Linked DNA regions of Homo sapiens: regions 2, 3, 4, 5, 6 and 7 are each linked to region 1. Evidence: promoter capture Hi-C in 16 types of primary human blood cells and fetal thymus (Javierre and others, 2016). All regions are on one chromosome and are shown on one strand. Each heading gives the region's core, a stretch centred on a gene start or on the middle of the fragment in contact. The rest is flanking DNA. Distances are from core to core; before and after follow the strand shown.

Evidence for each region. Contacts are between HindIII fragments. The CHiCAGO score rates a contact against its expected background, and 5 or more counts as called.
Region 2: a contact is called between a fragment that was not itself captured here and the fragment with the promoter of PSIP1 in region 1, in 13 of 17 cell types (non-activated CD4 T cells, total CD8 T cells, activated CD4 T cells and 10 more). The highest score is 15.1, in non-activated CD4 T cells.
Region 3: a contact is called between a fragment that was not itself captured here and the fragment with the promoter of PSIP1 in region 1, in 6 of 17 cell types (naive CD4 T cells, non-activated CD4 T cells, total CD8 T cells and 3 more). The highest score is 9.0, in naive CD4 T cells.
Region 4: a contact is called between a fragment that was not itself captured here and the fragment with the promoter of PSIP1 in region 1, in 5 of 17 cell types (fetal thymus, naive CD4 T cells, total CD4 T cells and 2 more). The highest score is 7.5, in fetal thymus.
Region 5: a fragment that was not itself captured here is called in contact with the fragment with the promoter of PSIP1 in region 1 in 2 of 17 cell types (non-activated CD4 T cells and activated CD4 T cells); the score reaches 6.2 in non-activated CD4 T cells.
Region 6: a fragment that was not itself captured here is called in contact with the fragment with the promoter of PSIP1 in region 1 in 8 of 17 cell types (activated CD4 T cells, total B cells, non-activated CD4 T cells and 5 more); the score reaches 17.8 in activated CD4 T cells.
Region 7: a fragment that was not itself captured here is called in contact with the fragment with the promoter of PSIP1 in region 1 in 10 of 17 cell types (non-activated CD4 T cells, activated CD4 T cells, naive CD4 T cells and 7 more); the score reaches 12.7 in non-activated CD4 T cells.

What each region holds. Positions count from the first base shown.
Region 1 is chr9:15,509,309-15,513,040 of GRCh38, reverse strand. It overlaps PSIP1 (PC4 and SRSF1 interacting protein 1), which reads left to right and starts at 2,071. Exons shown (of 16, transcript NM_033222.5): 1 at 2,071-2,224; 2 at 2,712-2,924. The coding sequence starts at 2,853. RefSeq lists enhancers at 1-399, 1,052-2,004, 2,005-2,958 and silencers at 2,086-2,165, 2,186-2,395, 2,406-2,465, 2,596-2,645, 2,746-2,945. The HindIII fragment of the contact is 3,241 bases long and covers 830-3,732 here.
Region 2 is chr9:15,182,968-15,187,021 of GRCh38, reverse strand. It overlaps TTC39B (tetratricopeptide repeat domain 39B), which reads left to right. Exons shown (of 20, transcript NM_152574.3): 15 at 1-78; 16 at 1,616-1,742. Among named protein-coding and RNA genes, the nearest start is that of TTC39B, 120 kb to the left of the region's middle. The HindIII fragment of the contact is 1,397 bases long and covers 823-2,219 here.
Region 3 is chr9:15,167,593-15,171,568 of GRCh38, reverse strand. TTC39B (tetratricopeptide repeat domain 39B) reads left to right here. Exons shown (of 20, transcript NM_152574.3): 20 at 1-3,976. Among named protein-coding and RNA genes, the nearest start is that of TTC39B, 140 kb to the left of the region's middle. The HindIII fragment of the contact is 821 bases long and covers 1,714-2,534 here.
Region 4 is chr9:15,108,591-15,112,504 of GRCh38, reverse strand. No RefSeq gene overlaps it. Among named protein-coding and RNA genes, the nearest start is that of TTC39B, 200 kb to the left of the region's middle. The HindIII fragment of the contact is 582 bases long and covers 1,697-2,278 here.
Region 5 is chr9:15,150,627-15,154,742 of GRCh38, reverse strand. All of the region lies in intron 2 of LOC124902123 (a long non-coding RNA gene), which reads right to left. Among named protein-coding and RNA genes, the nearest start is that of TTC39B, 150 kb to the left of the region's middle. The HindIII fragment of the contact is 839 bases long and covers 1,677-2,515 here.
Region 6 is chr9:15,223,952-15,227,960 of GRCh38, reverse strand. TTC39B (tetratricopeptide repeat domain 39B) reads left to right here. Exons shown (of 20, transcript NM_152574.3): 3 at 1,949-2,044. Among named protein-coding and RNA genes, the nearest start is that of TTC39B, 81 kb to the left of the region's middle. The HindIII fragment of the contact is 4,969 bases long and covers 1-4,009 here.
Region 7 is chr9:15,204,650-15,208,556 of GRCh38, reverse strand. The region is part of intron 6 of TTC39B (tetratricopeptide repeat domain 39B); the gene reads left to right. Among named protein-coding and RNA genes, the nearest start is that of TTC39B, 100 kb to the left of the region's middle. RefSeq lists a silencer at 2,432-2,726. The HindIII fragment of the contact is 5,394 bases long and covers 1-3,907 here.

The sequences.
Region 1 (3,732 bases), core at 822-3,321:
CACAGGTTGAAGCGGACAAAACTTAAAGGCAGCAGGAGCTAAGTATGGTACTTCCTTTTTTTAAAACAACAAAAACAACAGAAAATACTAATAGTAAAACATCAATGCTTTTCCATTTTCCCTTTTTTATTTCTTTTCTGAGGTCCCCTCTAACACTAACTACCCCCTCTTTACCTGTTAATCCTACCATTAGTACTAATAAAAAGTTATCTTTAACGTTAATTATAACTTGTTATATATCTGTTTTTCTTAGTTTGAAGTTTTTACAGTCTGAGGTATCCTCTAAAGCAGTTTCTCAAACTTGAATATGCGTAAGAATCACCTAGGGATCCTGTTAAAACGCAGATTATGATTTAGAAGGCCTGGGGAAGGTCTGAGCTTTACCTGAGCTCCCAGGTAAAGCCCTTGCTGCTGGGCCTTGGACCACACTTGAAGTAGCAAGGCCTTACAGGGTTTAGAACAAATAAAGTGCATACACACAAAAAAATGATTGCTGGATGCTGCTTTGGTCTCTCTTACTCTGTATCTTGAGCTTTTCTTCAATACATCTTTTTCCACCTTTTCCTATGCATAATTTATAGCCAACACCTGACAATCATTCCTTTGTGTAATTACTTAGTTGTGCTCTTCCTTCCCTTTTCTTAGTCACCATTCTCACTGAGAAATGCGTCATTTCATGAGTACTCCAGTTACCCCCAGCCTCTTTCTACTAACATCTACCTTGAAACATCAAGAACTGGTTAAATAATCATTTTTACCCCCTTCTTGCTGAGCAACCTATAGTAGCTTCCTACTACACACATTAAATTCATATTCAGAATGAGAAGCTTCAAGACATTTCACCAACCCTTCCTTCTCCTCTGCCAATTTCTCTTTTTGCTCCACTTGGAACTCTCTGCATATTGCCCAGGTATACTTAGTTTCTCGAAACTCCTTACAGGACATTTTACTTTGGGACTGTCTTCTTTCATTCCTTTTTAAAGACATGCTGTATCGCTTTCAAAAAATTCTCAATTTTTACCAATTCAAAAAAAATTTCCTAATTCATTTCCAGTTGAGTCCCGTATTTAAAACAGTATTATCTAGGTGCTAATATATGTCTTATTATTCTTATTTTTATATGTCTTAACATTCTTTTTAAAAATATTTTCAGCCTCTCTAAAGGATCAAAAAATTAACCTTTAAAATCCCTTGAAGAGCATTTTAAGAGAGAAAATATTTGAGGTTTAGTAACACTTACACATTGTACCACCTACCAGCTCCTATTCTACTAGGGAAATAAAATTTAGATGCAGCTAAAATTTAGTTAGGGCCCAAACTCACATCCTATCTAAAAGGTTTCTGTTTTCCTGTCATTGTTTTCTACCCTTCGCATTTTGCATTCAGTAGGGTTGCATTTTTCTTAATAGTTCTTGGTGATGCAAATGCAAAAGAAATGAAATAGGGCTCTCTCATACTACAATTTCAAGGAAAAGGAGACTACGAGGCCCATTCAGCGAGGTGCAAGAGGCCTAGATGCAGCACACCCTGCAACCGCCGCATGCTCCAATTTCATCTTAGGGTTTTCGTACAGCTCCTCTTTTTTGGATGATGCAAACCGCGCAAAAGCAGCATTCAAACCTCCCCACCCTGGAAACGATACAAGAACATGAATCTTTACTGCCACTTTCTCCCTAACACGCAGCCAAGGGAGAGAGGCCCGGATACCCGCCCCCAAAACCGCGTCCACAACAATCATTTCCTCCCTCCCCGCCTTTTACATACAGTACACATACAAATACACACACGCAGAGAAGCCAGCAGGGGCGGGCCGGGCCCGACCACTCCGCAAACCGCAGGGGGAACTTGCGGCAGGCCGAGCTATTTTCGCCCAGTCCTTTCTTCTTCGCTTGCGTCTTCCTCTCCATCTGCATGCACCTGTTACATGAAAGCGAACTTGGGGACGTAGGGTTTCCAGAAAATCCGCTTCGGAGCCACACAGCTTCGCCGGGTGCTGCAACATCCCCCCTCTCTCGGTAAACAGTTGGTCGCGCCCCAGTGCTAGCGGGCGCCGAGCGGGAGCCGCGCGGGAGCAGCGCAGCTACGGCGGCGGCAGCGGCGGCGCGGTTGCGATTCCGAGCCGTTGAGACGCCTCTGCGGCAGCTGGTGGCGCAGGTGGCTTGCGTGGACGCGGGTAGAGGCGACCGGCCAGCAACCGCAGCGTCGGCGCCCGCGGCCCCGGCAGGTGAGCGGGCGACGGGGACTCGCCCCGCCCCCCCCTCGGTGGCGTCGCTCCTGGCTGTAGCGGGGAAGTGGACGCGGCCCGCCCGGGAGCCGAGGGGGCCGAGGCTGCAGCCGCTGGGCAGCAGGTTGCGGGGGAGGCCTTGCGTGGGCGGAAGGGGGCCGCTCGCTTCTCGGAATCCCTGCCTTTTTCTCTCCCATGCACCCCCTCCCTTTTGGGGCTTAAGCTCGGTGGAAAAAGCCCGGAGAAAGATGGGGCGGGCAGACGGGCGATTTCTGGCCGGGCAGCATCCCTGCTTCAGGTGGTGGCGTCTCTTCGGTGGCGGGGTGGAGGACCTGCTCCAGCGCGGAGGCAGCGCACTGGCGGGGGAGGAGCGGGAGGCGGCCGTCCCCTCGCTCTCCCACCCCCACCCGCCGGTTCCCCTCCCCCTCCCCTTGCGGCCCCTCCCTTCGGGGTTCTTCGCTTTAACCGCCCTCGGTGCTCTCCCTAGCAGGCGCGTCGGGACGCCCCGAGGCATCCTCCCCCGCCCGCGGGCCCGGTAGCTGGGCCCGCGTCCGCCGCCCGCATCCCCGCGCCGCCGCATCTCCTCGCCGCCTCCCGGGCTTCGGACCCCCGGTCTCGCCCCCGAAACATGACTCGCGATTTCAAACCTGGAGACCTCATCTTCGCCAAGATGAAAGGTTATCCCCATTGGCCAGCTCGAGTAAGTGATTTGTAGCCCTCGCGCTTAGCAGTGCTACCCTCCTCTCCAGAGGCCTGCTGCCCACCGTGTCTCTTTATTTTTTCTTCTGTCCTTTCTCTCCCTCGCTTTAGTCTCATTTGTAACCTGACCTTTCATTTTAGTTTTTTGCCCAATAATCTCCCGTGTAATTATGAAAATCCAGACGTTTCTACATACCTGTGTATTTCCCTATGGTTTATTGGCAGACTTGGACAGATTTTCTTCCTAGGAAATATTTAAATGCGTTGCTAGTTAATATTCCATTGTAGGTGAAATAATGAAGAGTGAATTTTTGTTTAAAAATTAGTGAAACATTGACATTTCCATAGTTTTGGATCAAGTACAAAATATCAATGGAATTTGTGCAGATTACACACAAACACTTGGATGTCAGAGAAGTGCGTATGTGATTAAATTGGATTTACAGGGTTTTAAAAAAAATACCTTGTACTTGATGAGGCCTTCTGGATTTGCTTGTTTAATACAGATTCAGGACTGGATATTCTTGAAAGTATTACAGTAGTTTAGTACCGAGGAAGGGCCAGAAAATTCATTTCTCCTTTTTTATTTGAGATGTTTATGACCTTGAAGAAGTTGTTTTACCTTTTTGTTTCCAATAGGCAAAAAGGAGGTGTGGACCAGATTCCTCAGTTCACATCTAGTGGTACAGAGAAATGATTAAGGACCCAGGATGTTTTGTGACATTGAGGAATTGAGACTGTTTAAAGATCTACGCTCCATTTTTAGAAAAAGGGTTCTTTTTGTTTATGGTGGTACCCAGGCTCTCAAA
Region 2 (4,054 bases), core at 272-2,771, 330 kb after region 1:
CTTGAAAGCAGCAATTTTGAGTATGCTTCCAGAGGAGGATGTAGTAGCAACGAATGAGAATGTGGTAACTTTATTCAGGTATGTGAGACACTATTCCTATAACAAAGGCTCTGAGGGTATAAAGGGGCAAAATCTCATCTCTACTGAAAATACAAAAAATTAGCTGGGCCTGGTGGCATGTGCTTGTAGTCCCAGCTACTTGGGAAGCTTAGGTGGGAGGATTGCTTAAGCCTGGGAGGTGGAGGTTGCAAGTGAGCTGAAATAATGCCATTGCACTGCAGCCTGGGTGACAGACAGAGTGAGACTCTGTCTCCAAAAAAAAACCATGTATATTAACTGTAGCATCAACATCAACATTAGTAAAAGCCATGGCATGATAAATGTCACTTTTTACTGTAAAGTTCATTTCCTTATTTTACGGAAACAACAATTAATGGAAGGGAGTATTAAGATACATTAAAATCTTTTAAATCTCCTTCTCTTTCTTCCACTGCAGATTAAGTTTTCTCCATATCAAAACAGTTTATGTGAAAGATGTGATCATTTTTATTTTCAGGAGAAAGCTTTGAGGTCTTGCTCTGTCATAGCTTCTAGGTTGTTGGGATAATGAGAGTTCTAACAATGAATGGTCTCTTCATAAAGATGCTGTTACCTTTAAACTACAAGGGTTCCTGTCTGAGACATGCTTCTGACCCCTTCCTCTGACCCCCACCTCACATTTCCACTGCCTTTTCCACTGACGGTAATGAACAAAAATGATGAGACACTGTAGTTTAAAATCCATAGCTCCATATTTTGCCCGGAATTAACCTAACATAAGCTTGACTCATATTGGAGGCATATTATTTCATGTTATTTTTTCTTTCAGTGATGTAATTGAGTATTGCCTTGAATTCTTTCTCAGCAACTTGTTTGATGCATCCATAAAATTATGCATAAGAAAGTGCTCCCAGGAACATGTAGTCTCCCCATCCTACTGTCATTTTTACCTGCTTATGAATTTCATAATTGGAATTCTGTAGAATTTTAAAAGGAAGTTTCTAAACATGGTACACATCCTAAGCTGATTATTTCCCAAACAACCTGTGCTTGGGAAACATTTTCTTAAATTATACGTTAATTGTTGGCTGTCTTTTGAGCCATATTATTTTATAGATCTGTGTAATACTTGCAAATAGGAATAGGCCATATACCAGTGTACCCTCTTCTCTCTCCCTGAGTATCCACAACGTAAGTAAATACTTTGGACTCTTTCCTGCTTACTCGTAGAAATCGCCAGTTGTATACCTAGATTTCCTGGACTGTGTTTGATAGATTTAAGACATTAGCTAAGTTGACTGGAAAGAAATATGTGTCAGTCAGTGGTTCTCAATCTTGAGTGTGCCTCAGAATCACCTGGAGGGCTTATCAAAATCTAGATTGCTCGGCCCCGGCCCTGGAGTTGCTGATTCAGTAGGTCTAGAGTAGGGCCTGAAAATTGGCATTTCAAATAGGTTCCCAGGTGATGCTGCTGCTGCTGCTGGTGGTCTGTGAAGTTCACTGTGAAAACCACAGGTACAAATAATGTATGTGTTGCCATGACCTTTCTCTGGGGCTGGGCTGGGGTTCTTCACAGACAGGTGGACAGCTTGAAGCAGAGAATTGCCGGGAAATCTATCCCTACTGAGAAGTTTGCTGTGAGGAAGGCTCGGCGTTACTCCGCCTCCTTACCTGCACCTGTGAAGCTCATCTTACCTGCCCTGGTATCTGCTTTTATTTTCTTTTCATGTACTAGAAATAAATTACCTACTCACAGCAGCAGGGAGCATATCTAAATTTGGTTATGAAGTTTAGCTCATTTAAAAACCATTGTAGGTTTTGTTGTAAGTTGAACATTTCTAAATAAATAATTAATAAATAAAAACTGTAGCTAATGGTTTTTGACTAGTTAGTATGATCCAGGCATTACGATAAAGGCTACTAAAAACGTATCATTTTATTCTTATAACTTTTTGAGTATAGTTAACTCTTAGCCCCATTTTTTAGTGAAGAAATTTAGACAGAAAGAAGTTGATTCCATTGAAGTTGAGTTGAATTCTAATGCAAGCCACATTATGTAATTTTACCTTTTCTAATAGCCACATTAAAAAAGTAAGAGGAAATAGAAATGAATTTCAAGAATATATTTTAACCCAGTATATGCAAAATTTTGTCATTTCAACATGTAATTAATAGAAGCTTATCCATGAGATATATACATTCTTTCATATTGAACCAAGTCTTAGAAATTTAGTGTGTCTTTTACACTTAGAGGACATCTTAGTTTGGTCTAGCTGTATTTCCAGTGCTCAAGAGCCATAACTGGCTGCTGGCTGTTGTATTCTAGCTCCAGCTCACATTCTTAAACTTTATGCCATTTAGGCAAGGCTTCTGTGAAAAACACAATTTCAACTTGAATTTTCTTAATGAAGTGTTCTTCAAAAAATACTGAATATATCAAGTTACTATGACTCTTCTGGTGCTTTAGTTTTTATATAGATAGTCAGCACAGGAAAGCTGTTCAGTGTAACCGATGTCTGCAGTCCTCCACTCTGGGGTTTCCTGAGTTTTTTTTTTTTTTTTAAATTCAGAGTTTATTTCATCATTCCTCTTTGACAGTTATTTAGATTTTTCCAGTTTTTACAATTATACACTGCAATGAATATCCTCTTTTTGTACATGTGCATATAATTCTCTGTGAAAGGTTTTTTAAAAATGGAATTCCTGGTTCAAGGGAATATATACATTTAATATTTTGGTAGATATTGTTAAATTCCCCTCAAAAAAAGCTCTACCAATTTAAATAAGTACTGATAGTATTTTACCATTTTAATTTGCATTTCCTTGTGGATGTGGTGGAGCATCTTTTCATGTGTTTCTTCATTTTTATTTTTTCTTTTGTAAATTGTTGTTCATATTCTTTCCTAATTTTTCATTGGGTTGTTGATTGTTTTCTTAGTGACTTATGGGAGCCTTTTATACATTCTATGAGAAAGAACAATGCAGCCCCTCCCTGACAGGGGTCAGACAGGAGTTAGCCTGCGCCTAGCACCTAGGTCCAGGTGTTTCCTACCTAACACAAACTCAGAGAACTTCAGCATCAGACAGGCCCATTCTGTGACTGTGACGGAGCAAGACAAAAATATGACCACTCTGTAATCGTGTCTGAGCACAAATAAAAACAAGAACACTGTGTAAATCACACAAATAACCAAACATCTCCCTCTCCCAGCTCACATGAGAGCCTTCTGTTGCTTAACCAATTAGAGCCTTAGCTCCATGCCTGATTCATTTTTATTAAGTGATTTGCACTGGGAAGGTTTTTCTGTCTCACAGAACTCTACAGAAAATTTTCTAGACTATCATCTTTCTTTGCCTTAATACTTAGATACCAGTGTATACGTAAGTGTATCCTGCTTTGACTGTTAAGAACCATAGGGAAGGTTAACTCCCTGCACTTCTTTCTCCAGGTCTATGGAAGTAGAATGTACAGGAAATTGGCTTGAAATGTTAGTACTGGGATTTTTTTTTTTTTTTTTGTACCTAGGAATTTTACCAAAAGCCTGTTTTTCATAAAGTCTCAGATATGAGCTTGCCCTCTTCTGATAAAAAGATTTTATCAATAAAAGGAATTTTTAAAAGATCATCATCAATTTAAAAAAGATTCTGTTATTGAATTGAACTCTTGCTCTATTAGCAGCAATAAATTGTTACATGTAAAATTGAAGGTAGAGTGTCATGATCTTAGTTTTCGGTGCCATAAGATAAAGATACCTTTGCTGCCATTCTACTTGAGTGTGTCGTCCTCATTTCCACTACCTCCTGCTAAGAGGCTTTTCAAGCTATATTTTTATCATATCTTAAAATTTATTTCCAAGAAGATACTAATTACCCTGCTTACTTCATACCCTTCAAAATACGAACTGCACTATCAGGAACATTAGAAAAATATTTTCAAGCAAAAGCACATTTGCTTTTGATCCAAAAAAATTCTCATCTGGTAGCCCATTAAATATAATCTGTAATGAGAAATCAT
Region 3 (3,976 bases), core at 875-3,374, 340 kb after region 1:
TAAAATAGCTTAACAGTGACCTTCAGAAGACTTCTGAAAAAGACAGTCTGAGAACATGAACACGGATCGATATAATGTACTTCATGGGTTGAAGAGACCTTTCTCTATAAAGGATGATGCAGTATTCAGTTAGTGGTTTTTTACTCTTCATTTGATTAAAGGTGGTGACGTTTTGGAGAGACTGATTTTGAATGTACTTAAGTCTATTATAATAACAAAATTCAAAACCCCTGTGTATCTAAAGGGAAGGAAGTGTCATATTTTAGGAATTTTTCTTAACCTTAGCAATGAGAGCCTAAAATACATACATGGATTATTTTTCTTCTAGGAAGTAAATTTCCTGCTGCTTTAAATGATATGTAAAATATCAATAATTTTTACACTTAAGATGTTGGTAAGACCTAGTTTTCTAATCTCTCTAGCACTGTGATGTCTCCTTGTAGATAATCTGGACCTTGCTTAGTCCTTTAGTTGGGAAACAGAATCAGGGCATAGAGCAGAAGAGAGCTTGACACTCCATATGGTCCTGGTTCTGCTACCCATTAGCGATTAGTGAGGAGACCTTTAGGGAGTCCACTGTGCCCTGTGTGTCACCACATTTTCTTCTGTGAAATCAAGATTAAAGAACAGATGACTTTCAAGGTCTTTTTCAGTTTTATAACTGTGAGTCTATGTATTAGGTATTTATTTTCAACAAATGACTTTAAAATGTCGAATGCAAACCATTCCCACTTGGAGTGTTTTATTTTTCAATCATCATCATTGCCCCCAACTCCCCACATGTATGTGTTGTGGCATCCAGAGTGAGAAAAGACAATTTATGAGTTGATGAATCTGGGCCTTATTTCTATTTCCATTTTGAAGAATAACTTGTCATAGAAGCCTCTGCAGTTTAACAGAAGGAGCCACATATTGGGAGTCACGAGTTCATCTCTGTGGGTTAATAGTTCCATGACACGGAGTACGTAGCTCAGCTTTTCAGGGGTTCAGTTGCCCCACTATGGATAGCGGTGTGGTATTTGGTACTTGTGAGGGCTCAATTAGATAAAACATATGATAGCTTTTTGTAAACTGTAAAAGGCTATACAAAAGTATGAATTATTATAATAATTATGGTTTTTTATGTCTGGATTACAGTATCAACACAAAAGTATTGGCTGATACTGTGGTTTGTGTTGTAAAATGAAAGAAGTGTAGAAATTCAAATACCTTACTGTGTATTCATGTGTTTGATGTTGACAGTAGGCTACCCAGGTTATATGAACCTGCTCCTGCCGTTCCCTGCCACATGGACCTGTATCAAGCAGTGTGTGGCTTGTTTTCTTCAAGGTACTGATTCTTGACCAACACTGAGGATGTATATCCAATGAAAGATAGATATCAATGGCGGTAGATATCAATGTGTTATTAGTAATACAACTTTAGGTACAGACAAAATAGAAAATAAAATTAACTGTCATTATAATTAGTAGTGGAAAATACATTAAAAATTATTTGTGTATAGCTTTGGAAAAAAGTTTTCCAAAAAAAGCTTTTTGGAAAAAAGCTCTTAGAAGAGCTTTGGTAACATTATTTTTGAAAGCGCACACTCACATTGTGACTGTGGGTATACTGAGCATATATTCTTACATTGTTACTGTGAGAAGCTGCAAGTCAGTGCTGCAAGTCAGTAACAAATTCTCTTTTGGGGATAAAATGAAACAGTTTTAAGCTTAGAGTGGCCATTTTTATTTTAACTCTGCATTACTAAACAAATATAAAAGAAATTCATCTCCATTTAAAAATCTTTTTTGTTATTTATATTTTGTTTTATTTTTGTTTCCTATTCTTTATGCAGTTACCTGATACTATGGACAGTATATCCAGTGGATCTTTTAGTACTGTAATATCAAAATGCTACAAATATTTATGTTTCCTGCTATGTTCAAGATATTGTAGTGGCACCAACTTCTTGGGCATCAGCTAATATTGCATTTTGGAGTCATTAGGGTGTTCTGTGAAGAATGAATACTGAAGTGACAGTTTTATCTAGTTTTTTGAGGGGCATTTATGATGGGGTTGGGTTGCCATTGTGTCTGACAGTGCAATTCATGTAGTTCCTGGCATAATTGCCTTTTTTTTTTCCTTAATGGAGAGGCAGGGTTCTGATTGGTGCTGTATAAATTTAAGTAACTTTGTGCTTTGTAGGAATGGTGACAAGGAAGGCATGATTTCCCCCTGACAAGGAATGAAAGGTGAACTGTATCAGCTCTTATCTGGACATATATGTTAATGTTTTCTATGCTCCCTGATACAAGAAGTTTCCAAGTTATATAGGAAAATTAAGTCCATTGATCCTGTCTTTATCCTCAGAGGGCAGAAATGAGACAAGTGGATAAAGGCTGTAGGAAGCTGAATTCCAGATTAATCAGTGCCGAGGAAGATTTTTCATTATCGGAAAACCCAACAGTCTAAAATCAATAACCAGTTCTTCTGCAAAGGGGTGAGTTTAAGCAGGGCTAATGTGACTGTCATTTCTGCCTGTCCTGCAAGCTTAGACTAGTTGAACTTTGAGGTCACTCTATGATTCTTTTATTAGGGCTTCAAATCAGCAGGGAGTGTGTAAAGAAAAAATGCTCCCCCCCTACCATTTCAAATAAAAGTGAATGTTTTCTCTTTCAAAGCTACTATTAGAGGTAGTTGTGATAGACACTAACAATCCCCGGTGTTAATACTTTCCACTCCTTTTATTTTATTTTAATTTAATATTATTTTATTGAGACAGAGTCTCGCTCTGTCACCCAGGCTGGAGTGCAGTGGCGTAATCTCTGCTCACTGCAAGCTCCTCCTCCCAGGTTCACGCCATTCTCCTGCCTCAGCCTCCCGAGTAGCTGGGACTACAGGCGCCCGCCACCACGCCTGGCTAATTTTTTGTATTTTGAGTAGAGACGGGGTTTCACCGTGTTAGCCAGGATGGTCTCGATCTCCTGAACTCGTGATCCACTCCTTTTTAAAGTGAGTCTAGTCTGTTGATCTTCATAAATAGGAGGGTTTTCCTCCAGCTTGGACATTAAAAATAATTTTTAAAAAGATCTTTGTGGCTAACTGGAAAATCTTCTGGAATTATCTAATGCTTCATTCATTTCCCTCCATTTCTGTTTTTTTTTTTTGTATTTATACTCTGCATATTTAGAAATCTTAAATTCAAATACATTTAGTTAAAATGAGTTGACGAAGACTCCAGTGATGTTTTAATACCCTAAGATTTTGTGATTCCTTGGGCCTGGAATGGATCTTAGAAAATTACCTTGCCCTCATGAGCCTGTAAACCGTGTTGTTTCCCCTCAGTCTTGCTCTGTCCAGTACAGTAGCCCCTCGCCACACATGGCTGCGGAGCACCCGGAATGGCTTACAGCACATGTGGGAATGGTGCTGAATGCTGAGGAAGCATTCACTCATACGTGCTGCACTTCTTAAAGGCCTCCCAATAGCCTGCTTTGCGGAGTTCTGGCTTTTACTTGCTGTCTACTATGATCACCTGATTTGTGCTTCACATACATATCTGTGAAGTTTGCTTTTTCTATTTAAAGTGCCCTTAAACTTTCATTTGATCGTGTTTATCTGCAGATGGTCAGTGTCATTGGCATATTTGAACATTATTCTGCCCTCCCTCCGCCAAACTCCTTATGTACTAGATTAAGAAATTTTATTTTTGAGATGATGATTTTAATTTGATTTTACAGACATTCTTTTTTACAAAGTACAGTTGTTAGAGTTATAGAAGAGTGATTCACATCTTTGAGAAGATAGATTTCATGATTAATATATATATTTTTTGAGACAGAGTTTCGCTCTTGTTGCCCAGGCTGGAGTGCAATTGCACGATCTAGGCTCACTGCAACCTCTGCCTCCCAGGTTCAAGCAATTCTCCTGCCTCAGCCTCCCAAGTAGCTGGGATTACAGGCATGTGCCACCATGCCCAGCTAATTTTGTATTT
Region 4 (3,914 bases), core at 738-3,237, 400 kb after region 1:
AGTTAAAAATCACTAATGATTCCTACAAGAAATCTATATAAGAGGATATTACACATTGCTAAAAATCACATTTTCAAAAACTATGACAGTAGAAAGTGTTTACTTTTAAACAGTAAATCTTAGTAGGGTCAAACATTGAACAGATAGTACGATCATAATTCTGAAAAAAGAAAACCCAACATATTTGTGCATAGGAATAAACTAGAAGGAAACCCATTAATATTATGTGTTTAATCTCTGAGTTGTAGAATTTGGGTGATTTTTGTTATCTTCTTCAGAAGTTTAATGTAGTTTATTAATCTTCTACAATACAAAATTTTCTGTTTTATAAACAGAAATAACAAATACTATTTTATAAAACCTGTACAAATTACATTAATTCCAGCATGCTAAATTGAACACATTATTTTTAGTAGAGCCTTTCAAGGATTATAATTATGTCCTTTTGGATTTACTGGGTAGTCGTAATATTTACCTCTTTCCTTCACTTTGCCAGTGGGAGAGATGTTTGCTATGGCAACAGAAATGACTAGAACAGTCATTTATTTCCTTTTCTAAATTTAATTTTTAGGAAGAATTAGAATGTGAAATGTTTTCCAAGTAGTTGACCCCATCTGCATCTTCATTTACATTTCCTAGAGTCCATTGGACCTAGCCTTGCTAGGCCAGGGCTAACTCCTTCACACTCTGTCGTGGAATAAAAATGAACACTTCGACTAAACTATGGATGTATTTAATTAACTCATCCATATTATCCTTAGTTACTCTCTATGCAGGGCAATTCTGACCCAAGAGAGACTAAATTTCCTTTGAAAGAGTAATTTATTTTTTGGGAAATAACTGTGACTGTTTATTGAGTGCTTTAGTATCATGCCTAAAGTTTAGTGTAATTTCCTTCTATTATCTCATTTAATTCTCACAATAACCCCATTATATGGTTCCTATTATTATCTCTGTTTTGTATACAAAGTACCTCATATATAAAGAGGTTAGGTGACCTGTCCAGTGTCATATCAATCATAAATGCCAGATGTGAGCTGTAAGGCCATGGGAGACATAGACCAAGTTCTTAAACTCTAAGCTACTTAGCATTCCTGTGTGTTCCCTCTTATGCCCACTGAGACCCACTGTGACATTTGAGTACAGGCTAGGTAATCATTTTTAAGAATTCCAGTGTCAGAGGAGACTTTCTATCATGAGACTGTTGCTATAATGACTAAATTATTCTGAATTGATAAGGAATGCCAGATGCCTGCAGGTTCATTCTATTAAAATTTGCTTTGCATATTTCTGCCCTAAACTCAGTGAAACTCATGTTTTAATCTCCTTGCAATTCCAGGGGAAATAAAAAGCAAAATCATTTTATTGCCAGTAAAAATCTTCTAGGTTTAGTCAGAGCAAATTATAATTTCTGGTGCTTCTTGACTCATTAGTTCTTCCAGATGGTGCATGTAAACATGGCAGGAGCTGCAAAGAGTGTGAAGGCCGAAATGTAAATCAAGCAATAAGTATTCATTATAATTTGTGTGACAAATGGAAAGCCTATAAAGCGAAGCAGTGCATTGCTCGATCAATTTCATCCCATTACTCTTGGGATCCCCCAGAGACTATTTTCGGAAACAGACTCCCCAATTTTGTCAAGGTCAATTGTCATTACAGTGTTTAGAGGAGTCCTCAGATGCCTCGCAGATAAGCTTGAGTCATCATAGCTGCATTCTTTCTGCTCTTGATAATCTATGGGTTGTCCTTAGTTCTTCAAGAAGCATGAAGAAACAAGAGGAAAATATGACTTTAAAATGTTGAGGTTATTTGAAAAGGAAGAGAAGGCTTGTTGCAAGTGTTCCCATACCCACTGTATTGGAAGTAATCCTGCCTTGCCCAAATTCCCCCTTCCCCAGGATCCAGGTATACATCCCACTGTCCTGCTGGGAGTATTGATGACTGATGGGTCTCAACTGAGGTCCTGAAGAGATCTTCCTGGCCCAAGGTCACATGCCTTCTGAGCAGCTGCATTTATTGACTGGCTAATGGGTAAGAAAGAAGGACCAGACTCCTGATCCCACTTTCTAGCCCCTCTCCAACTTCAGACAACTATGATTGGCCTTCTCAGCTCCAGAGCTCCTCATAGGGTCAGCTGAGGCCTTTGTTGCAAATGAATTTCAGTTCGACTTTTTGCCCAATTTTTAGTGGTTATATAGCCCCCAATATAAGAAGCAACATGCAGCGGTAGAAAAGGCACCAGATCATGAATCAGAATACCCGGGGTCTAAAGCAAGCTTTGTTACTGTTGAGCAATGAGATCTTGGAGAAAATAATTTGCCTTCTCTGTTCCTTATTTTTCTTATCTTTCAAGTATAAAGCTTAGCCTAGCCTAGCAGTTCTTACCTATGCATCTCTCCCAGTGGATGTCCTTTGACTCCCTGAAATTATATACAATGTCTATGTATTTTTCTGGCAAGGTTAGGGGCATAACTTTCATTAGGTTCTTGAAGGTCTCCACAGAATTTTTTTCTATTGTGGTAAAAAAAATACATAACATATACTTTACCATCTTAACAATTTAAACAATGTTCAGTTCAGTAGTGTTAAATATATTCATATTATTGTGAAACAGATCTCCAGAACTTTTTTATCTTACAAATCTGAACTCTATACCCATTAAATAACTCTTTTTCCTCCTCCTCTTAGCTTCTGTTAACCACCATTCTACTTTCTGCTTCTATAAATTTGACTACTCTAAGTACCTTATGTAAGTAAAATCATATACTATTTGTCTTTTTGTTGTTGGCTTATTTCACTTAGCATAATGTCCACAAGGTTCGTTCATGTTGTAGCATGTGACACCACTTCCCTTTTTTAAGGCTGAATAATATTTCATTGTAGGTATATACTATGTTTTGTTTATTCGTTCATCAGTTGATGGACATTTGGGTTGCTTCCACTTCTTGGCTGTTCTGAATGGTACTGCTGTGGATATGGGCATCAAATATCTCATCGAGACTCTTCCCTTCCCTTTCCTTGTCCCTCCCTCCCTCCTTCCCTCCCTTCCTTCCTTCCTTCCTTCCTTTCTTTTCTTGATATGGGGTCTTGCTCTGTCGCCCAGGCTGGAGTGCGGTGGCATGATTATATCTCACTGCACCCTCAACCTCTCAGGCTCAAGGAGTTTCCTCCAGCCTCAGCCTCCTCAGTAGTTGGGACAGGCATGCACCACTATACCTGGCTAATGTTAAAAATTTTGTAGAGATGAGGTCTCACTATGTTGCCCAGGCTGCCCTTGAGCTCCTGAGCTCAAGTGATCCTCCTGCCTCAGCCTTCCCAAGTGCTAGGATTATAGGTGTGAGCCATTGCACCTGGCTATCCCTACTTTCAATTCTTTTGCATATAAACCCAGAAGTGGGATTCCTGGCTCATATAGCAGTTCTATCTTAACATTTTTTAGGAATCTCCATATGGTTTTGTATAGTGGTTGCATCATTGTACAATTCTATCAGCAATGTGCAAGGGTTCCAATTTCTCCATGTTTTGCTATCTTAGTCTGATTTCTGTTGTTTATAACAGAATACCTAAAACTGCATGGATAAAAGAAATTTCTTTTTCCTTTTTTTTTTTTTCTGGAGGCAGGGTCTTGCTCCATCACCCAGGCTGGAAGGAATTTATTTCTTAGAGTTATGGAGGCTGAGATGTCCAAAGTCAAAAGCCTGCATCTGGTGAGAGCCTTCTTGCTGACGGGGATTCTCTGTAGTCCCAAGATGGCACAGGGCATCACCTGGCAAGGAAGCTGAGTATCCTAGTTCAAGTCTCTCCTCCTCTTCTTATAAAGCCACTAGTCTCATTCCCATGCTAACCCATTAATCCATTAGTCCATTAATCCACTAATGAACGCAGAGCCTTCATGACCCAATAACCTCTTAAAG
Region 5 (4,116 bases), core at 847-3,346, 360 kb after region 1:
TCGGGGAATGGGGAGGACGAGGTGGAGAGGCACCTGTTATTGCTGTCTAAGCAGAAAGTGAGATGGCGTGAGGGTGCGGGGAGGGACGGTATTGCAGATTGGAGCACTACCATGTACCTTTAGGATGCCCTCCTCCTCATCTTCCTAGATGAGCTCTGTGTCCCTAGACTTAGTTTACACAAACACACAAAAAATAGTAAGTGTCCATGATTTTGATTATCAAAATAATCCTTGGCTGGATAATCATTCTTGGGCGATATTGTTGGGGCGAATGAGGGGACTGAGGGAGCACAAAATCTCAATAACTGATGCTAAAACCCTGTGTCCCCCATTTGGTCATGGAGCAACAAGTCAATACCAGGTCAACAGAATCTTCTATACTTAAAATCCATTTTCGTGGCTCTTATACAAGCCACTGGGAAGCCCACACATTCAACATTTGTTCCATTTTTCCTTCCAGATTAACTTTATTTTTCCACATCCCCGATAGTGATTTTTCCATTAACATTTGATGCTCAATTTTCATTTTCCCTAACATTGGTCCCTGGAAGTCTTCCAAAATCTTAGGAAGCATAATAGATTTGATTTCATCTTGTTCCTTTCTCACCTGTTTTTTTTTTTTTTTAATAAAGCTGGTTTCTTTCTTTATTTGAGCAATCTTCTGCTCTCCAAAGGAAGACTCTTTAAAGCTTAGTCCAAAGGAAAAGACTCCTATTCCAAGGCCAGCAAATTTCTTCCTCCACGTGGCCTCTAGCAGCCAGCCAGCCACCAACTGGCCTCTTGTTACAGCCTTTTGTTGACTCTCTTATGGATGCTGCTAACAGTCTCTAGCTTTCCAGCCACTTTCAGCTCTTCTGACAGTAGCCCCTTTTTGGGAAGGACCTGGAGATGAGGCTAAGGCTGCGTTGTTCCCTATCTTTGTTGGATGTGTTGCAATAAAACAACACAGGTAATTCACATTTGAGCTGGAGATTAAACTCAGGTTGGGCTTCCAAGCTGTCACCTGGGACAGTCATTGAGGTTGTGCTTCTTTATCCTGGTTTGTGGCTTGGACGTTTGTTTAGCCTTAAAACAGGATTTCAAATGACCAAAGGAGATTCTGTTGGACTTTTCCTTGGCAAACTCAGGAAGGTATGTCGTGCTTTCAGTCTTCACTGGCTGAGAATGATAGATAGAAGGAAAGCTGGGAACCTCCTAGGCCTTTCATCCCATTCTGAAGTCTCTGGGTTCAGACCTCAGTTCGTGTGTAATGTGGACGATTGATGATTGCAATGGATGTCATTTTTGTTGTTATTCCAAGCAAATGTACACTTTTTTCTTCTCTATGGTATATTTTATTTGTTTTGTTATACCAAATTGTTCAAATAATGTTGAGTATCAATGACCGGGCACCTACTGAAATAGGAAGGGTTTTAAATGGTAGGCAATTATACAAAATTAAAAGGATGAAAATGGCAATTAATGGAAGAAACACAGATACCAAAAATGAAATATTAAGAAAAGAGTAGAAAGTCTGCCAATAGGACATTCCATTCTTTAGTTTGGGGAAAGGCCCTCATGCAACATTTTCTGTGCATTTCCAGTGGGCATAGGTGTCTAAGTTCTAAAACTTCTTTTCTAAGTAGGCCTAATTCAGAGAACCCAGCTTATTAGATATAAGTGCAAGAAAACAAGCTTTATAGCCATTTACCTCCACCCTTTGACTGAGTGGGGAAAGGGAAAAAGGAGGGAATTAAGGTCCCGGCACTCATGCTTCAAGGCCAAGAACTGCATTGTGGAGATCTGTCTGGGGAGGGTGGCTGTCACGCTGCAAACCTCAGAGGTGGGCACTGTCAGCCCCATCTGCTCAGGAGGGATAACAATGCTGCTGGTGGGACTTTGGGCAGATCATATAATAGCGTGGACCAGAGTCTGTTGTTTCCAGATGCCCCAGGGGAAGGCCAGAGAAAGGCTCCTTCTGAGTGAGGCTGACTGGGGGTAGTCAGAGCACTTATGTAGAGTGGCTAGGCTTTATTGGAGCAGACCAATACAAAAAAAGTACTAAAAAAACCAGTTTCACTAATAATTAAATGAAATTCCACTCACTGCACTTTAACCAATAAAATATCTTTGTTTTTTTTTTGTATACTAAACCCTACGTAGACTTGAACCAATTCAGAAGACAGTCTGTTGGCCAAAGGGCAAAATCCACAGCACCAGGTAGCATTTGCTTGAAGTTCCAAGGCACCACGAGAGATTGCTTTCCCCCAAGACTACCAAGGCAGTGTATATATGTGTGTGTGTTCTTGTATGCACACACAGCACACAAAGGACAAGTCTCTTTGCCTTGTGCAGAAATATTCTGATTGTTTCAAGATTGAATGAGCTTTCCCGCTTTCCCACTTTCCCACCTTGTCTTCCACCTGTGTGAAGTTCGTCCATGAGAGGGGTCTGCCCCACTGAAAATCTCCCATTTGGTTTTGGAGCTGCAGGAGCAGCAGGCTCAGGCAAGTGCTTCAATCCACTTTGCCAAGCTTTCTGCTGTACTCCAGACAACTTGGCATGCTGCAGCAGGGGCAAAACACTGACGTCCTCTTTTCCTTTTTTTTTTTTGAGATGGAGTCTTGCTCTTGTTGCCCAGGCTGGAGCAACCTCCGCCTCCTGGGTTCAAGTGATTCTCCTGCCTCAACCTCCCGAGTAGCTGGGATTACAGGTGCCCGCCACCATGCCGAGCTAATTTTTGTATCCCTAGTAAAGACGGAGTTTTGCCATGTTGGCCAGGCTGGTCTCGAACTCCTAACTTCATGATCTGCTCACCATGGCCTCCCAAAGTGCTGGGATTACAGGCGTGAGCCACTGTGCCCAACCCTCTTTTCCTTTTTCAAATGTCAATGGAAAGTTGATTGGAAAGGACAATTTGGCTACCTTTTGGTACCCTGCAGGATTACCTTTATATCAATCATTTGCTGATGCAGGGACTTTCAGAAATTTTGTGGTCTCTTGCAAACAGCCTTGGCAAAACATAGACCTTCAGTATGTGTTGAATGAACCCGTGGATTGCTGGTGTCAGAAGTCCTTTCGTGGACTTGCCTCTGCTGGGGACCTCAGGTTGTGTTGCCTTCTGGGAGGGCCACAGAGAATAGACAGAAAAGAAATCTAAAAGATTCTTATGGGTTTAACACAGGACTCGGCCTTAGCATAGAGAGGGGAAGGTTGCAAGTGGAGGCAGTTGCCTCACCAGGACAGTGGCTGGGCAGAATGGTTTCACAGAGCAAGGTGAATAGACGGAGTGGAAGATGATAGAGATTGCTGAGGACACAAACTCATGCTGCATCTCTCATGGCAGAGTGTTGGTGCTGCTATTTGAATATTAGTCAGTGTTCAACAGAAATCACTCTAGGTACTTTAAGAAGAAAAGAATTTAATACAGGAAATTAGGTGCTTACAAAATCATTAGAAGTGTTGGTCAAGTAGGTTCCAGGTGTGGCATCCATGAATGTTCTTGGGCAGGGGTGCCTGAAGTAATCCACCAGGGCAGACGTATTCAGGCAACCTGAACATCTGGCACAATAGCAGGGGTAGAGGGGGAGGCAATTCCTGCCAGGAAGATAGCAGCTTCCGGCTGGGTGACTAAGAGGCCACGGCAATCCCCTTAAGATTTGTGGGTGGTTTGGTGACTCCTGGCACCTTCCTTGGTATTGGAAATGCCCGTCCCACAACACTTTTTCTGGTAGCAGCTTTGAGGGAGAAGGGTGGGCAGGCTGGTGGGAGGAGGGTATTTGCCTGCTACTTTCTCTCCAGAAGTGTTCATGGCTACAGTCATCATGTGGGCTTTTTTGTAGGCATGTGAAGGTAGATGGGGAATTAGGGTTGCCTTTCTCTGGGACCTCCAGTTCCCTTTGGTGGTGCTGGTGAGTTCAGGACCAGCCTCTAGCACAATAAGTGTGTGGCTTGTGGGGTTAGTGATCCTGATGAGCCACTCACAGGTATTTATGGACTGACTTCTTCTAGCTGTCTCAAGTTCCTGTCTGTCTGTTAGGTCTTGGCACTGACCACAGGTCAGGAAGCCACATGGTCACATTGAGAGGGCAACTTCCTAGCTAGACCAGGGGTAGTTGCCCTCATGCAAGTCCATGT
Region 6 (4,009 bases), core at 627-3,126, 280 kb after region 1:
AAGTAAAACACAGGTAAAACTATGTTATATAATCTTTGTAGAGGGAAGGTTTTTCTAAGTATGCCCTCAAAATCAGGAATGTTAAAGAAAAGGGTGATAGTTACGACTAAGTAAAAATTTCAATATTGGGGAGACTTTTATTAAAGCTAAAGGCAAATGTGAAAAGGGGATATTTTAACAGTACATTTCAGAGACTGTGTGTTTCTAGCCCTCGAAAATGAGTCTGTAAATGAACAGATGGGCAAGAATGGTCCAAATGGGTAGATAGCCTTTTCAGTCGGTCACTTCCTCTTTCCCTGCTTGTAAACGGAGCTGATGGTCACTGCCCAGAGTCTTATTTATGGAAGTGGTACCTGTATTCTCAGAATAAGAAGTTTTTGTGATGGAAATAACTTGTCTTCTAATGACATTTTCCCTTACCTGTGGAGTTTTCTTCCCTCCCACCACCCACACCTAACCACCCTTGTAAGAACAACTTCAGTTTTCCCCTATGTGATGTGAAAAATTTAGGGAACTTGATATATCCAAGATAAAAATGAATGTCTAGTGTAAAATATTAGAGTGCATTGGGAAGTCTGAACTTCCAATGGGGGAAAAAAACAAAAAACAAAACTCCACTTAATTGAGGACACTGCACTTTTTTTTTTTTTTTGAGATGGAGTTTTGCTCTTGTCGCCCAGGCTGGAGTGCAATGGTGCGATCTTGGCTCACCGCAACCTCCGCCTCCTGGGTTCAAGCGATTCTCCCTGACTCAGCCTCCCGGGTAGCTGGGATTACAGGCATGCGCCACGATACCTGGCTAATTTTTGTATTTTTAGTAGAGACGGAGTTTCACCATGTTGGCCAGGCTGGTCTCGAACTCCTGACCTCGGGTGATCCACCTGCCTCGGCCTCCCAAAGTGCTGAGATTACAGGCGTGAGCCACTGCACCCATTGTACATCTTAGAATTAAAAAACAAAAACAAAAACAAAAAACAACCACAAAAAAACACGCAAAACTTCTCCTCTTTTTTTAATGACTTTACCTCTTTTTTTAATGACTCTAGCTCTTCTCTGTGAAATGTGTACTGTTAAGGTGAGTGGAAATGGAAGGAGATTGGCAATTCTATTGTAATACAGGGCAGGACTTACTCTTAAACTCTTTCTGGAAATTTCCTTCTCTGAGTGGACCTGCCCCCATTGTGTGCCTGTCAGATATCTGTGGGTCAACAAACTGGCCGAAGATTCTGCAAGGCAAATTGGTCCTTACCTTCTTTATGTTACTTCAGCTTTCTGTGGTGTGTATTTAGTGGGAAATTAGACAGTTTATTAAAAATAAAGTACTTTACAAAATAAGTACCATTGCCTTCGGGAATGTATTTTTTGGAAATAATTAGGCAAGTGAGTAAAGGGGCTTATTAACAGTAGTTTGTAATGCCAAAACTTTGGGAGTAACCTACATGCCTGAAAATGAGGGACAGGTAACAAATTATCATTATTTCCAGTCAGCAGCATGTTGCAGATGCTATGATAAAGCAACTCTGGATTTATTGAGAAGAAAAGATTCAGAATAATTCCTATATGTAATCCATTATACTGTATACCATAACCCATTATAATAAGTATCTTTAATAAAGTTTTATTAAAATATGTATAGATTTACTTGGGAAAAAACCTGGACGGATATATACAAGATACAATCCTATCTTTGGGTGGAGACCTGTGGAGTAATTTCAGTTAACTTATTTTTTGTGTACTAGAATGAAAAAATAAAGTTATTAGGGCTGTATTTCAGGAATGTTTGACACATAACAGTAGATTTTTGTTACTTGATTTTTAAAATTGATAAGAAATGGAGGTAAGATGTATAAAAATAATTGGAAGACTTATGTTGTGTAATTGCACTGGTGTAGACTTTTCTCACAGGACAAAGAAATAAAAAACCTTGCTCTGCCTTTTTAATTAACAGATCTTCTCACTCAGATATGGCAACAAGCAGCCTTCACTTTGCATCATGTGATACACAACAGGCGCCCAGACAGCGCGGAGCGTCTACTGTCAGCAGGTCAGGAAGGGTTGTGGGCATTCCTGGGGGAAGAGGGGAGGACAGTCCCACCCTTGAAGGAATATAATACTGATATTTGCATAGTGCATTGCGTTTGACAAACCAATGAGGTCAGGAGAGGCCTAGGCAAGTAGAGTGCCCATTTTATAAATCAGGGAAGGAGATACGGTGGCTGCTCAGGGACTCAGTGAATAGGTGGCACTGTTACATGAAAGCAAAACAAAATTCAACTTTGGGGCACAACTCCCTTTCAAGTCGCTTTTATCTTTAAATATTTTTAGCTATTATTTTTATTATAAAATAATAAATCACACTGCCAAACATTGGGGAAAATGGAGGAAAGGAGAAACAACCATAATGATGATCACTTGAACACAGAATTTTGGTGTATTTCCTTCCAGTCTTTTTCCTAGGCATGTGCTTCTTGATACAGTTGTAACCATAATAGATTTTTTCGTCAAATATTATATTATGATTATTTCTTTCTTACATTTTTTGCATAATCTTGGTTTAAAAATATATTTTAAGAAGTGTTCATTGTAGAAAATTCAGAGCTATAGAAAGCACAAAGAGAATGAAATATGTATTACTATAATCCTGATTATTTTTGTGTGTATTCTTTTTCTCCTCAAATATAGAGATATTAAATTTTTTTCTTAATTGGAATCATATTAAATATACTGTTCAGTAATCTACTTCTTAAAATTTAATATATCGTGATATTTTCCCCTTCCATTAGATATTTTTCTGTGGTATCATACTTGGTTAATTTTTGTTCCTTTCCAGATCATTTTAGAATTAACAGATTCTCTCTTTGAACATGAAGGTTTTTTTTATGAGTTATTAAGGCAGCTCTGTTAAAGCTGTTCTAGTACATGAGAAAGTACTTTTCATCCATCCTTAGAGGTTTATTAAACTTTTAGAATTATACAGCAGATCCTTTACTTAGCATTTTGGATTTTGCATTTGAAATTTCAGCTATGCGTGTGTTCTTTATACTCATGGGTTTGGTAGTTTGTCTTAGGATTCTACCCTCGCAATATATAGAAAAGGTTACAGAATGGAGATAAAGTGAAAATAACTTCTAAGGATCTTAAGGCATTTGTTTTCCATATCCTTTTTTTTACTGTGTGTGTAAAATTCCTGCTCATGGAATTTTGTGTTTTCTTCAAAAAGAAGTGCTCTTCCTTCATAGTTATCCTCTAACTCATTCGATAGTTTCCTAAGTAACTACTGTATCAACATTTATAATGCTGAGTTTGAAAGCTCTAATAAAATAAATAAAAATTACTGAAAGCATTAATAAATAAGGGCATGACACGCACAGGCAGCAACAAGCTGCATCTGTAGACTGGAAGTCTTTAGCATGCACGTAGTTGTTGAAGTGATGAACCACACCTGTATTTCCCAGAGAGCCATAACAAAAGAGAAGAGAATGGAGGAAGGAACCTTTTGGGAACACAGAACATTGAAGCATGGCTGAGACAGTGACCGTTCAAACAAGAGCTACATAGATGTGTGAGAGAGGAAGACTACAAGTTGGTGGCCACAGGACAGGCAAGGGACTTGGGGGAAGGGTGAGTTCTGGAATGCAGTCAGCAGAGCCAGGTGTGGCAAAGAGGTCTTCATGGATACAGGTGGAAAAGTATCCTTTGCATTTCATAGTTAGGTCATTGGAGACCTTTAGCTCATAAGGTTTTAGGGAAGTTGAGGCAGGAGTCAGGCAGCATGGCTAAAGGTCAGTGGGAGGTGGGGAAGTAGGGAGAGTGAGCATCATTTGTTTTCTGAAGCTCTTGCCTGTGAATAGAAGGAGTGGGAGAAGGGTGTGTTAGGAGAGAAAGCAAGATTGAGGGAGTTATCTTTCTTGCTAGTTTTACTTTAAATAGAAATGAATGAGATTTGTGTATATTTCTGAGTCGGGAAGGAGTCAAAGAGAGGAAGAGGTTAAAGTTATATAAAAGAGGA
Region 7 (3,907 bases), core at 875-3,374, 300 kb after region 1:
TAAAGTTCACTAAAATGGGTTAATGAGAAATCAAATAGGCCCAAAAGAAATTGAACCTTTTTGTTGTATTCTCCTTTCTGTTACTCTCTCTATGGTTTCCCTCTAGTGGCCCATTGACCTCTGCCTCCCTTTTTCCTTTTAGTATGAAGGCTGATATTTGAGATTTTTTTTAGCTGCATTTTGGCATGAATGACATGGTATTTTTTGTATGAGTATAAATAATAATAATAATTTGGCCGGGTGTGGTGGCTCACACCTGTAATCCCAGCACTTTGGGAGGCCGAGGCGGGTGGATCACAAGGTCAGGAGTTACAGACGAGCCTGGCCAACATGGTGAAACCCCGTCTCTACTAAAAATATAAAAATTAGCCAGGCATGGTGGCGCACACCTATAGTCCCAGCTTCTCAGGAGGCTGAGGCGGGAGCTTGAACCCAGGAGGTGGAGGTTGCAGTGAGCCGAGATCGCGCCACTGCACTTCTGCCTGGGTGACAGAGTAATACTCTGTCTCAAAAATAATAATAATAATTTGAAAAATAAGATGATAATGCTCCTTTTTTTTTTTTTTTTTTTTTGAGACCAAGTCTCACTCTGTTGCCCAGGCTGGAGTGCAGTGGCATGATCTCAGCTCACTGCAAGCTCCGCCTCCCAGGTTCACACCATTCTTCTGCCTCAGCCTCCCGAGTAGCTGGGATTACAGGTGCCCGCCACCACGCCTGGCTAATTTTTTGTATTTTTAGTAGAGACGGGGTTTCACCACGTTAGCCAGGATGTCTCAATCTCCTGACCTTGTGATCCGCCCGCCTCAGCCTCCCGAAGTACTGGGATTACAGGTGTGAGCCACCGTGCCCAGCTGATAATCCTCCATTTTTAAAAAGCATCCTGTATGTGCTATATACTGTCCTTGTTGCTTTTCTTAACATTAACCAATCTAACCTCCTCTTTGTAGACTTGGAACTGATCAGAGTTATAAACAAATGGCCAGGATTCCCCACCTAGCAGAGTAGGGTTAACTGATCATCTGCCTTTCCCTAAGCCACAACTCTTTCACTGTAACCCACACTTTCTCCTATAGGCAAGTAGAGAAGGGCATGAAATGTGTCATATACGGATGAAGGAAATAATGAATTATTTCTGTGTTAGTCATCTTGAAAATAGATGATACTGTGTTGTTATATTTTTATAATGTCTTTGAACAATGGCACTTTAGGAAATCTGGAATAAGGTAGAAAATTACTTTTTACTAATTATAAAAAGTAGGCTGGGCCTGGTGGCTTGTGCCTGTAATCCCAGCTACTTGGGAGGCTAAGGTGGGAGGATCCCTTGAGCCCAGGAGGTGGAATGTATTAGTCCATTTTCACACTACTCTAAAGAACTGCCCAGGACTGGGTAATTTATAAAGGAAAGAGGTTTAATTGACTCATAGTTCTGCATAGCTGGGGAGACCTCAGGAAACTTAAAGTCATGGCAGGAGGCAAAGAGGAAGCAAGGTACCTTCTTCACAAGGTGGCAGGAAGGAGAAGTGCGTGTAGGAGGAACTTGTCAAACACTTATAAAACCATCAGATCTCGTGAGAACTCACTCACTGTCATGAGAACAGCATGGGAGAAACCACCCCCATGATCCAAACATCTCCCACCAGTTCCCACCCTTGATACAAGGGGATTATGGGGATTACAATTCAAGATGAGATTTGGGTGAGGACACAAAGCCTAACCATATCACAGAGGTTGCAGTGAGTGCAGATCATGCCCCTGTACTCCACCCTGGGTGACAGAGCAAGAACCTGTCTCTACATAAATAAAAAAAATAAACTAATAAACTTGTGACTATAGCCTATTATGAAATACAGGTTTATTTAGACTTTCATATCTAAATAAACTTAGCTTATTTAGCTAAGTTTATTTAGCTTAGCTAACATTATTTCAGTGCATCATGAAGATATTTACTCCTGTGGACTAAGGAATTTATAATTAAGAGATATTCTGGTAGTTACCTACTCATAAGTGCCTAATGGCTAATTTTGAGAACTAAAGAACTATGCAATGTAAATCAACCACAGTGAAAGAATAAGACTTTTATAAATTAAGCTGTATTTTATTCTTAGTGAGTTTGGCTGTCAACTGCAACCCAAACAGACTTTGTGTTCAAGGGAGCATGTCAAAACATTGTAGCTTTAGTGTGTGATTTGTTTTTCCTCTTGGTAATTTTCATTTACATCCTTGAGTGTCTGGTTGTCTACAGGAGTGAGTATATTTCATTAAACTTTTCATGGTTTTAATGTGGAACATACTAGTTCTTTTCTCTTGTGGCTGGCGGATTGCCCCAAATGGGTTTCAAATTGCCTTTACAAACAGATATTTAAATGCAATGAGTGCCTGGGATGTGAAAGGGATTTAATATGACAGATACTTATTTGCAGAATACAAAGTTCAAACTCTCATGCCTTTTCTGTCTGCCTTGTTGTCACATCCCCATGCTGCTCTTAACTTTGTTCATCTTTCACTTAACCCTGATCTGCCCACCCGTCTGCTCAGATCTCTGCAGGGACTGACTCACTGTTGCTTCCTGAATCAAGTGCAGACTCTAACATTCAAGGCCACTTATAATTGAGCCTTGACTGAGCCCTTCCAGCCTCATTGATGTCTCCTCCCTTGACTGGCTTTTCCTGAAGGTGCTCTTGGCTTTCCTTGCTCCTGTTACCAGCACAGTCCCCTCCGCCCCGGCTCCCCCACCGCTGCCATCACCACCACGGACTTCATCCCCTCTGCATGTACCCCAAGCCAGCAATCTGTATTCCTGAGCAGACTTTCATAGCTCATAATTCCTGGTTCTCACTCTGTTACAGAATTACCTAGGAAGAGGATATTCAGGTGACTGGGTAAAAATAAGTTACCAGTTGGTATCCCGCTGAACACAGCTAGAAAATCACTAGGCACACTTTGAGGAGAGGTGTTCTGAAGGACTGAGACCCTGACTGTGGATGTGCAGGCTCTAACTCCTCAAGTTTGGTCTGTTAATGGCTTTGGCCCCATCTTTCTGTGTACTGTTGAAGACCTTAGCTGCAGAGGTGCTTCTTTGTAAATTAAACATTGGAATATGAGCATGGCAGGAACTTGAACCAATTTATGAGAACCAGTGGGTTGTATGTGTGTGTAGGGTGGGGGTGGCATCTATGTGTATAAGTGCAAGAAAGTACTTGTTGTCATCTAAGTCTATTTAGCACTAATCCCAATAATAAGAAATACCCTATTTTCAGTCACAGTCCACATAAAAATGCTTTCTTCTTTCTGAGCTTTTACCAAAAAGCAGTGACACGGATCATGGGCAGTAATCTCAGTGCACGTAGTTAGCACTGATCCAGTGCTTACTCTGTATCATGAGCTCTATGTGCAGCACTTCATTTGATCCTTCAGCTGTGAACTAGAGGCGGCGTTAGTGGCCTTTATAAATGAGGAAACCAGCAGAGAGGGGACGAGGTCCCATAGCTCGTACATGGCAGAGCCTTTTTAGCAGCTCAGGCTCCTAAATACCCCAGGCTCGTTTACTTAAATATCATGCCACTTTGCATCCCATGGATAGAGCAAGAATCTGCTGACTTGTGTATGGAAAAAAGTAAAGGTTTGTCTCTCCATCCTCTGCAAGTATAATGGTTGGTTGGGAAGCTAGGGTGTGTGTTTTGGGGTACTCCGCAGGTCCCTGGGATGCACAGAGCCCCACCTAACCCCTTTTTGTGAGTACCTTGTTCTTGTGCTAGACATCTACATGATCAAATTAGCCTGAAACTGGGGTAGTGCTACCTCTTTCTATATCAGGTCTTCATGTGTGAGGAGTCTTAACGTGGCCGTGCAGGACATTTCTTTTTCACCGAGCTCTAGAGAATTGCTGCTTTCTTTTCAGGTAGCTAAT